Regions from separate parts of the Homo sapiens genome. Here region 2 is linked to region 1. The links are contacts of gene promoters, found by promoter capture Hi-C in blood cells and fetal thymus (Javierre and others, 2016). All regions are on one chromosome and are shown on one strand. The core of a region is centred on a gene start or on the middle of the fragment in contact, and the rest is flanking DNA. Distances in the headings are between cores, read along the strand shown.

Region 1 (5,716 bases), core at 1,935-4,434:
ATAAAGAAATCAAATCAAGAATCAGGCCGGGCACAGTGGCTCATGCCTGTAATCCCAGCACGTTGGGAGGCTGAGGCGGGTGAATCACCTGAGGTCAGGAGTTCGAGACCAGCCTGGGCAACATGGTGAAACTCTGTCTCTACTAAAAATACAAAAATTAGTCGGGTGTGGTGGTGCGTGCCTGTGGTCCCAACTACTCATGAGACTCAGGCACAAGAATCCCTTCAACCTAGGAGACGGAGGTTGCAGTGAGCCGAGATCACACCACTGCACTCGAGCCTGGGCAACACAGTGAGACTCTGTCTCTAAACAAAAACAAACAAACAAAAACCCAAAAAACAACAACCACAAAAATCAAGAATCAAAAGCTTGTTCTTGGTGAAAGACATCAGTCTGTGTGGTTTTACAAATAATTTCTTTCTTTATATAAATTATTTTAAAAGATAGAAAATGAAGGAAATCTGCCAATTTATTTTATAAGATGAGTTTTACTATTACTAGATAAGGACAGTAAAAGAAAATTGTAAGCCAGGCACAGTGGCTTACACCTGTAATTCCAGCACTTTGGGAGGCTGAGGTGGGAGGATCACTTGAGCCCAGGAGTTCCATACCAGCCAGAGCTATAAAGTGAGACCCTGTTTCTACAAAAAGTCAAAAAATTAGCCAGGCGTGGTGGTGCACACCAGTGGTCCCAGCTACTCAGGAGGTTGAGGCAGGAGGATTCCTTGAGCCCAGGAGGCCGAGGCTGCAGTGAACAGTGATCTCACCGCTGCACCAGCCTGGTCTCCAGTGAGACCCTGTCTTAAAAAGGAAGGGAAGGAGAGGAAAGAGAGAGAGAGAAAGAAAATTGTAGACTAATTTCATTTCATTTTTTTTTTTTTTTTTTTTTGACAGAGAGAGTCTTGCTGTGTCGCCAGGCTGGAGTGCAATGGTGTGATCTCACCTCACTGCAACCTCCACCTCCCAGATTCAAGCGATTCTCCCGCTTCAGCCTCCCAAGTAGCTGGGACTACAGGAACGTGCCACCACGCCCGGCTAATTTTTGTATTTTTAGTGGAGATGAGGTTTCACCATGTTGGCCAGGATGGTCTCAATCTCTTGACCTCGTGATCCGCCCGCCTCAGCCTCCCAAAGTACTGGGATTACATGTGTGAGCCATCACGCCCGGCCTAATTTCAGTTCTTAAAAAGACAGGGAAAATACAAATGCTAGCAAGATCAAACCAGAGGTGAATAAAAATATCGTAACCACAAAAGGTTTATCCAGGAATAAAAGAATGGTTCTACATCAGAAAATCTACTGTAATAGCACTGCATTGGCAGAGTAAAGGAGAAAAATCACATAGTCTTAATAGTCACAGAAAAAGCATTTTATAGTATTCTTAGGTTGGATTCCCTTAGAGACTGACCCTGAGGCAAGGATTTGAGTGTAAGTGGTTTATTTGGGAGTGAGTAGGGAGTAGAAAATTAAGACAGAGGAGGGGCTGGGCACCATGGCTCACACCTGTAATCCCAACACTTTGGAAGGCTGTGGTGGGAGGATAGCTTGAGGCCAGGAGTTCAAGACCAGCCTTGGCAATGTAGCAAGATCCTATCTCTACAAAAAATACAACGTGGTAGCACATGGGCATAGTCCCAGCTATGAGGAGGTGGAGGTGGGAGGATAGCTTGAGCCTGGGATTCAAGGCTGCAGTGAGGTATGACCATACCACTGCACTCCAGCCTAGGAGACAGAGTGAGATCCTGTCTCAAAAAAAAAAAAAAGAAAAAAGAAAAAAAAAATTAATGTCAGGGCACAGTGGCTCATACCCGTACTCCCAGCACTTTGTGAGGCCAAGGCGGGTGGATCACTTGAGGGCAGGCATCAAGACCACCCTGGCCAACATGGTTAAACCTCATCTCTACTAAAAATACAAAAATTGGGCTGGGTGCAGTGGCTCACGCCTGTAATCTCAGCACTTTGGGAGGCCGAGGCAGGCGGATCACAAGGTCAGGAGATGAAGACCATCTTGGCTAACACGGTGAAACCCGTGTCTACTAAAAATACAAAAATTAGCCGGGAGTGGCGGAGTGTGCCTGTAGTCCCAGCTGCTGGGGAGGCTGAGGCAGGAGAATGGTGTGAACCTGGGAGGTGGAGCTTGCAGTGAGCCGAGATCGCGCCACTGCACTCCAGCCTGGGAGACAGAGCGAGACTCCATCTCAAAAAATAATAATAATAAAAATAAAATAAAATAAAAAATAAAAAATAAAAACAAAAATTTAGCTGGGCGTGGGGGTGCATGCCTGTAATTCCAGATACTCGGGAGGCTGAGGCAGGAGATTCGCTTGAATCCAGAAGACAGAGGTTGCCGTGAGTCAAGACTGTGCCATTATAGTCCAGCCTGGATGATAAGAGTGAAACTCTGTCTCAAAAAAAGAAAAAAAAGAGGCAGGGCTCAATGGTTCAGACCTGTAATCCCAGCACTTTGGGAGGCCAAGACGGGCGGATCACAAGGTCAGGAGATGAAGACCATCCTGGCTAACGTGGTGAAACCCCGTCTTTACTAAAAATACACAAAATTAGCCGGGCGTGTTGGTGGGCGCCTGTCGCCTGTAGTCCCAGATACTCAGGAGGCTGAGGCAGGAGAATGGCGTGAACCCGGGAGGCGGAGCTTGCAGTGAGCAGAGCTCGCGCCACTGCACTCCAGCCTGGGTGACAAGGCAAGACTCTTGTCTCAATTAAAAAAAAGAAAAGAAAAAAGAAAAACTTCCTCTCTTTGGCATTATTATACTGTAGTTATTCTAGGCTCTTTTAGTACTTTTCCATGTGTTTTTCAATTTTTCTTCTTTCTAATAAATGATTTAGGCTATAAATGCTCTGAAAACCACTTGGGCTGTGTAGCAGTTTTCCTATGTAGCACATTCTCTCATTCATTTCTGAACAGCCTGTGGATCTCCTTTAGAACTGATTGTATTTTAGTGACATAAGGATAATCACGTTACCAAGAGGTTTCGGACAGCAGATATCTATCTATAGCATAGCTGGAAAAATTAAGAAGCAGCAATTTTAATTTTTGACTGTTTCCTCTGACGTGTTTACCTTCACTGCTGCCAGATCTCAGACACTATATCCAACATTCTACTTCTGAGGCAGGGTTCTGTATTCTATTTCTGGTTGCCAGAGCCTTCAGTTGACACAGTACTAAGATGAGACTGAAGCAAGGATCGTTTCTGTGGTACCTCTATCTGGACAAAATATACTGCTTATTATCCGTGAGAAACGTGAAGGCTTTGGCAGAATATTTTCATATTCTGGACGTGCACGGCAAGAACACCTTGAATGGTCAGTACTTTCAGACATGTCTCCTCTGGGTCCTTACCTGGGTTTTAGCTAATGTGTAAGAAAACTTGCAGAGCCAGAAACTATTTTGTTAGTACATTTTTTTTTTTTTGAGACGGAATCTCGCTCTATTGCCCAGGCTGGAGTACGATGGCGCGATCTCAGCTCACTGCAATCTCCGCCTCCAGGGTTCAAGCAATTCTCCTGCCTCAGCCTCCTGAGTAGCTGGGATTACAGGTGTCTGCCACCACGCCTGGCTAATTTTTTGTATTTTCGGTAGAGATGACCAGACCATGTTGGCCAGGCTGGTCTCAAACTCCTGACATCAGGTGATCCACCCGCCTCCGCCTCCCTAAGTACTGGGATTACAAGTGTGAGCTACCACACCCGGCCTGTTAGTAAATATTTTATCTTCTAGTTGAAGCACAGAGAGAAGTTGCCAACTCAGAATTGACACGGGGGACAGTTCAGCCGGGAGGAGAAAATTGCAGACTCTGGTGGAATCCTGGCTCCACACCCATTATTCCTTGGTGATGTGGATAACACGTCATCGCCCTCTCTAAGTCTCATTTTCCTCATCTAGAGGTGAGGCTTCTCATAATGGAGTCCATCTCATAGTTGGAAAAAAAAAAGATAATGAGAGTATGGCAAATGCTTAGCACAGTGTCTGACACATCGTAAGGACTTAATAAGTGTTTGTTATTATTGTAATTATTATTCTTGGGAGCTGAGCCCCACTCAGGCATTAACTCTGGAGACCCCTCAGCAAGATTTATCTGTCATGTGGGAAGTTTGAATCTGATGAGCTGCAGGATCCCTTCTACTTATTGGTACTTGTGAATGACCAAAAATAAATAAATAAATAAATAAATAAATAAAAATAAATAAATAAATAAATAAATATAAAAGCTGCAGATCTCAGCCATGCTTGTTGAGTTCACAAACTAATAGAAGTCCAATTAAACACTTGAGGTTATTTTTAGGACTGAGTAGAAATAAGGTATCCTATCCATTCACTCGTTCTGACCTCAGAGAGAGAAATGTCATCCGTGAGTAAGGGGTTCCTCCGTCATGATTTTAAGGAGTTCATTCAATTTTTAAAAACAATTAAAAAAGAACACCTTCTTTCTCTCTTTACATAGAGATTTATGTACAGTGCATTGCCAAATCTTCGCAATAACCCTGCCCTAGATAAGGCAGCTGCAGGGGACCTAGTTGTAAATAAAAGGCTGAGATGGAAACGCAGGGCTCTCTGCCTGCAAAGCCCATGCTGAGTCTCTCTGGGATGCTTGAGGAGTTTAAGCTCCCTGGTAACCTCCCTGCTGATGCAGTACCCAGGAGGTAACGCCATGCTCATGTCTTCTGGTCACAGAGGGACTGGAGAGTGACCTGGAAGGGTGAAGGCACAGCCTTAATGTTTGCCTTCCTGTGGGGGAATGACTTAAGGTTTTGGAGACTTGGGTGAGCCAGAGTCCACCGGTTTCAAAACAGTCTTTTATTTATTTATTTATTTATTTATTGGGACGGAGTCTCGCTCTGTCGCCCAGAAGTGCAGTGGCCCAATCTTGGCTCATTGCAACCTCCACCTCCCGGGTTCAAGTGATTCTCCTGCCTCAGCCTCCTGAGTAGCTGGGACTACAGCTGTGCACCACCACACCCGCTAATTTCTGTATTCTTAGTAAAGACGGGCGGGGTTTCACTATGTTGGCCAGGCTAGTCTCTGTTGGCCAGGCTAGTCTCGAACTCCTGACCTCAAGTGATCCGCCCACCTCAGCCTCCCAAAGTGCTGGGATTACAGGCGTGAGCTATCACACCCGGCCTCAAAACAGTCTTTGTTAAGTAATTACTAAGTTGCACATGGAAACATTTCTCAAGCAGCAACTACACAAACATCACTGTGCATATATATGGTGTGTTGTTTCCAGGTGCTCATATCCAGAGAGGCGTGGAGAAGGAACATCAAGAGGCGGTCAGAAGCCCCCAAATCATGACATTGTGACTACTAATTTGCTGTGCTTTTAGCTGGCTTCAGCTGGGACTCCACATTACACAGATACGTTTTACCTATTCAGTGGAGACATTTCTTTTTTTTTTTTTTGAGACGGAGTTTCACTCTTGTTGCTCAGGCTGGAGTGCAGTGGCGCCATCTTGGCTCACTGTAACCTCCGCCTCCTGGGTTCAAGCGATTCTCCTCCCTAGTAGCTGGGATTACAGGCATGCACCACTACGTCCGGCTAATTTTGTATTTTTAGTAGAGACGAGGTTTCTCCATGTTGGTCAGGCTGGTCTTGAACTCGTGACCTCAGGTCATCCTCCTGCCTCGGCCTCCCAAAGTGTTGGGATTACAGGTGTGACCCACCGCACCTGCCCACTGGAGCCATTTCTTATGCAGGAGAGA
Region 2 (5,716 bases), core at 1,289-3,788, 73 kb after region 1:
TCAAGTCACCAATAGGTTTGCTAAGGATGACAGAATAAAATACACAAACACAAAATAAGTAGGAAGCTCTTAACAAGCAAATTAGATCACTGCCTCCTTTCACCAGGCAAATAAGAATCTGAGTTAATTACCATGAAGAGTCTCTCTAAAGATAATAGGCTTCTGTACAACTAAGGAACCAGTCAGTAATAAAATAATTTCACCCAAAACCGAAACGAAATAATTAAAGCCGAGTAGTAAACTTTTTTTTGAGACGGAGTCTTGCTCTGTCACCCAGGCTGGTGGAGTGCAGTGGCACGATCTTGGCTCACTGCAAGCTCCGCCCCCTGGGTTCACGCCATTCTCCTGCCTCAGCCTCCCGAGTAGCTGGGACTACAGGCGCCCACCACCCCGGCTAATTTTTTGTATTTTTAGTAGAGACAGGTTTCACTGTGTTAGCCAGGATGGTCTCGATCTCCTGACCTTGTGATCCGACCGCCTCGGCCTCCCAAAGTGCTGGGATTACAGGCGTGAGCCACCGTGCCTGGCCACTGAGTAGTAAACTTTTCATTCTCCAAATGATAAAAGAGCCACAACTGTCTATTCATTATTTCACTTATTTACTCGAGCAACAACTATTTATTGCAGATGTACTAGGCACTATACCAGATACTAGGGATATAGTAAAGAACAAATCAGACAAAACCCTTGCCTTCACAGTGCTTACAATATTCTGGGGGAAGACGGGAAGCATATAAATAAACAAATAATTTCTAAAAGCAACTTTTTTAAAGCAAGTGGGAGGGGCATGCTAGTTTTAAGAACTGTAATAAAAAACACCACCCATTGTTTTTTTTTTTGTTTTTCTTTTTTGAGACAGAGTCTTGCTCTGTCACCCAGGCTGGAGTGCAGTGGCATGATCTCAGCTCATTGCAACCTCTGCCTCCCGGGTTCAAGCAATTCTCCTGCCTCAGCCTCCCGAGTAGCTGGGATTACAGGTGTGTGCCACCACACCCGGCTAATTTTTGTTTTAGTAGAGATGAGGTTTCACCGTGTTAGCCAGGCTGGTCTTGAACTCCTGACCTCAGCTGATCCACTCGCCTCGGCCTCCGAAAGTGCTGGGATTACAGGTGTGAGCCACCGCACCTGGCCAGCACCACACATTGTTTAGATTCCAAGCAAAGGAAACAGCACGAAAGCCCTAAGATGGGAAGAAGCTGTGTGTGAGTCACTGGATGTAAAGACTGCATCGGTATCCCACTGGTTTCATCTGAATCTAATCCATTCTTCATAAGCAACAGTCAGATTTTTAAAAACACAGCAGAGCAGGCACCAGACTTTACCTACCAGGTCCTTCTTGGCATGCCATCTATTCTGGTTCCTACTTCACAAGCCACAGCCAAACTGTCAAACACATCTCATCCACCGGCCCCTTTTCCATGAAGTACTTCCTGTCTGAATTTCCTACGGTTAAACATAAGTCTGTTCCAATTGGAGGTGAAGAGATGTAATATTTTATGCCCAAGAGAGGAATGAGAAAAGTAATGTCAGGTGAGAGATAGGGAGAGTAGGCCTAATAGTGCTAAGTTGCATTTCCAGCTTCAAATGGGCTAAGAGGTAAGGTTCACATCATAAACAAACAACTTCACTTACAGTACATTAAGCAGCCAAAAGTTGGCCGGCTGCAGTAGCTCATGCCTGTGATCCCAACACTTTGGGAGGCCCAGGCAGGGCAGATCACTTGAAGCCAGGATTTCAAGATCAGCCTGGGCAACAAAACAAGACACCATCTATACAAAAAAAATTTAGAGATCAGCCAGGTGCAGTGGTGTGCGCCTATAATCCTAGCTACCCCAGAGGCTGCCTGAGGCAGGGGATTGCTTGACCGCCCAGGAGTTTGAGACTGCAGTGAACTCTGATCACACCACTGCACTCCACTAGGTAACAGAGAGCCTCTCTTTAAAAAAAAAAAAAAAAAAAAAGTTTTTTCCTAGAATCTTACCGTATGATTTTAAAAACTGGTTCCAAAGAACCCAAGAGAACAAAAGAAACACCTGCTTCAGAGATCCATAAACACAACTGAGATTACTCTGTAAAACCTATTTTTGCTATTTTTAAGAACTATAATAAAAAGTTCCACAAATGTTAAGTTTCTAATATGAAGACCATCATGAGACATGTTAGCTTACGCCACCAGGTCAAAATGATTGTAAAGGCATTGGAATGAAGCTTTTCTTGCCATCTTTACGCATATATGAAATTTAGGAAACTTCCTGCAAATGTGTTACTGACTGGGAAAACCACAGGTCTGCATGGTGTCTTTTGTTAATACAGGCATGTATACATCCAGTCCCGTAAAACTGTACAAGTGAGCACATTAACACAGTACATGGATGTCTAGGTTCCACTAAATGTCACAGCAAGCTCAGATGCATCTGCTCAGTATACGCTCTCATCAACACGAAGTAAATAAACAATACTCGGAGAAAATATAACTTAAGTCATAACACTGCTTGACATGACGTGTTTAACTTCTGAGTACAGCTGATGATGTTGGTGATTCAAACTTAAAATCTCCTACAGAACTTTATGAGACTCTAAATCATGTTTAAAAATTTGTGTACCAGGACTTTACTGATTCCACACCATCAAAATAAAATATAAAGAAATCAAATGCTGAGGCTATGTTAGTGTTCAATGTCAGATTTAAAAAAAAAGAAGATTCCATGTTAATGTCTGAATCTACTGATTTCATCTAACATACTTAAAAACGAAAGCTGGGAAGTCAACTGACTTATTTAAGGTCATAAAGAAACGGAAGATGAGTGGAACACTCAAGGGTTCTTCTGACTCCCAGATCTTTTCATTATACTATATGGTCCTATTTAACAAAGCTTCTGTTCTAGAACTAAGAAAGGCTTCTATTAAGAGCATATTATTTTCTCTCCAATGCCATTATAAAGTCAAAGATGTGTTCCACACAAATGATAATTGATCCTAAAGCATTATGAGAGAACCAGTCTCTGCCCCAGGTCCAATGCAGCTTACATTGTGCGAAGATAAGTAATGTATAAAAATAGCCATGATAGAAGTTTTTTTTTTTAAGTAGAGTGGAGAGGATAAGTACTATAAGAATAGTACTAAGGAAGTTCAGAAAACGGCAGGATTATTTCTGGGTAGAAAAATGAGAAAAACGCTCAGAGTTGGTCAATAATGAAAGATTATCCTAGTTGGAACGTAGAAAAAGAGAAGTGGGCAGAGTGTGGATCTACTGTAGCCTGGAAAATAGTTCAACCGTCCTCTGTAGAATTAAATCTACCTGATTTCCAGGGAAAACAGAGGCTACAGCACACATTAAATGATACAAGGCCACATTCAGACAAATCCAGATTGTGGTACATTCTACAAGACTCTTCAAAAAGTCAATGTCGGCCGGGCGTGGCAGATCACTTGAGGTCAGGAGTTCAAGACCAGCCTGGCCAACATGGTAAAACCCCGTCTCCACCAAAAAATAGACAAATTAGCCAGGCATGGTGGCGCACACCTGTATTCCCCAACTACTCAGGAGGCTGAGGCAGAAGAATTGCTTGAACCCAGGAGGCAACGGTTGCAGTGAGCAGAGATCATGCCACTGCACTCCAGCCTGGGCAACAAAGTGAGACTCCATCTTAAAAAAAGAATGTCATAGGGAAGAAGAGGAGGAGGAGTTCTGGATTTTAAAAGATTGAAGTGACAAATGCAATGTCTAAATGCTGATAAGATCTGATTTTGGGGAAAAAAACCCAGTTATAAAAGACATTTTGAGGACAATTAAGGGATTTGGACTATGGACTAGATCTCAGAGGACATGAAGATATAATAATCTTTCTTAGCAGTGATAATGGTACTGTGGTTACGTAGGAGAACAGCTTTACTTTTAAGAGATTCACATTGAAGTGTCATGATGTCTATATTCACTTTCAAACAGTTAAGTGCAAAAAAAAGAGATACAAAGGAATATATATCAAAAAAGATATATAAATATGACAAAATATCATTTGTTTAATATAGGTGACAGGCGTTCAAGGGTTTCTGTACTAGAGTCTTCCAACTTTTCAGTATGTTTGAAAATTGTCATTTAAAAAGTTTGGGCGGGGCGGGGTGGCTCATGCCTGTAATCCTAGCACTTCGGGAGGCCAAGGCAGGTGGATCATTTAAGGTTAGGAGTTGGAGACCAGTCTGGCTGACACGGTGAAACCCCATCTCTACTAAAAACACAAAAATTAGCCAGGCAGTAGTGGTGTGCGCCTGTAATACTAGCTCCTTGGGAGGCCGAGGCAGGAGAATCACTTGAGCCTGGGAGGCGGAGGTTGCAGTGAGCCGAGACTGCACCACTGCACTCCGGTCTGGGCAACAGAGTGAGGCCCTGTCTCAAAAAAAAAAAAAAAAATTAAGTTTGAAAAAAAGAATTAGATGTAACCTTGGTAAAGATGGTCTATCCATCCACTCCTTTCAACAATGAAAGAAATTGAGTCGCACACAGCTAATGGAGGCCTCTTCTCGTAACAAGATTAAAACCCAAGCGGTCTGAAGAATCTTAGACCAAACTCTTTCCATATGCCAGAAAATTGGGAACTAAGAGACACAGACTGATTCTGTAACAAACATATACATGTGCATGTAAAAAAAAAAAAAAAAAAAGTTAAACACATTTTTTTTTTCTTTAAGAGTCAGGGTAGGCCAGGCACGGTGGCTCATGCCTGTAATCCCAGCACTTTGGGAGGCCGAGGCAGGCAGTTCATGAGGTCAGGAGTTCGAGACCGGCCTGGCCAACATGGTGAAACTCCGTCTCTACTAAAAATACAAAAAATTAGCTGGGCATGGTTGCGCATGCCTGTAATCCCAGCTACTCGGGAGGCTGAGGCAGGAGAATTGCTTGAACCCAGGAGGCAGAGGTTGCAGTGAGCCGAGATCACGCCATTGCACTCCAGCCTGGGCGACAGAGCAAGACTCTGTCTCAATTTAAAAACAAAAAAACAAGAGTCAGAGTCTTGCTCTGTCACCAAGGCTGGAGTGCAGTGGCACAATCACGGCTCACTGCAGCCTTGAACTCATGGGCTCAAACAGATCCTCCCATCTCAGTCTCACCAGTAGCTGGGACTACAGGCACAGCTACCACCTGGCCTGCCTAATTTTTAATTTAAATACATTTCTTATGCTTAATCTGTGATAATACAGACTGAGTAGCTCTTATTCAAAAGTTCTGAAACTAGAAGTATTTAGAATTTTAGAATTTTTTTTTTTTTTTTTTTTTTTTGAGGTGGAGTTTCGCTCTTGTTGCCCAGGCCGGAGTGCAATGGTGCGATCTCGGCTCTTCAACCTCTGCCTCCCGGGTTCAAGCAATTCCCCCGCCTCAGCCTCCCGAGTAGCTGGGACTACAGGCGCCCACCACCACGCCAGGCTAATTTTTTTGTATTTTAGTAAAAGACGGGGTTTCAATGTTGGCTGGGATGGTCTCAATCTCCTGACCTCGTGATCTGCCTACCTCAGCCTCCCAAAGTGCTGGGATTACAGGTGTGAGCCACAGCACCCAGCCTAGAATTTTAGAGTTTTTCAGATTTGAATACTTGCAGCACACATACTGAGTATCCCTAATCTGAAAACCTGAAATCCTCTAATTTTGGATTAGGGATGTCCAACCTGTAGCATTAAAATTGTAACAGAATAAAACTCTGTTAGACTATAATAACCTACTACA

The links. The method cuts DNA at HindIII sites, captures the fragments that hold promoters and counts their contacts. A CHiCAGO score of 5 or more calls a contact.
Region 2: a fragment that was not itself captured here is called in contact with the fragment with the promoter of EFCAB9 in region 1 in 1 of 17 cell types (activated CD4 T cells); the score reaches 5.0 in activated CD4 T cells.

The regions. Positions count from the first base shown.
Region 1 is chr5:172,190,988-172,196,703 of GRCh38, forward strand. EFCAB9 (EF-hand calcium binding domain 9) reads left to right here and starts at 3,185. Exons shown (of 4, transcript NM_001171183.2): 1 at 3,185-3,321. The coding sequence starts at 3,186. The HindIII fragment of the contact is 7,932 bases long and covers 367-5,716 here.
Region 2 is chr5:172,265,100-172,270,815 of GRCh38, forward strand. All of the region lies in intron 1 of UBTD2 (ubiquitin domain containing 2), which reads right to left. Among named protein-coding and RNA genes, the nearest start is that of UBTD2, 16 kb to the right of the region's middle. The HindIII fragment of the contact is 665 bases long and covers 2,207-2,871 here.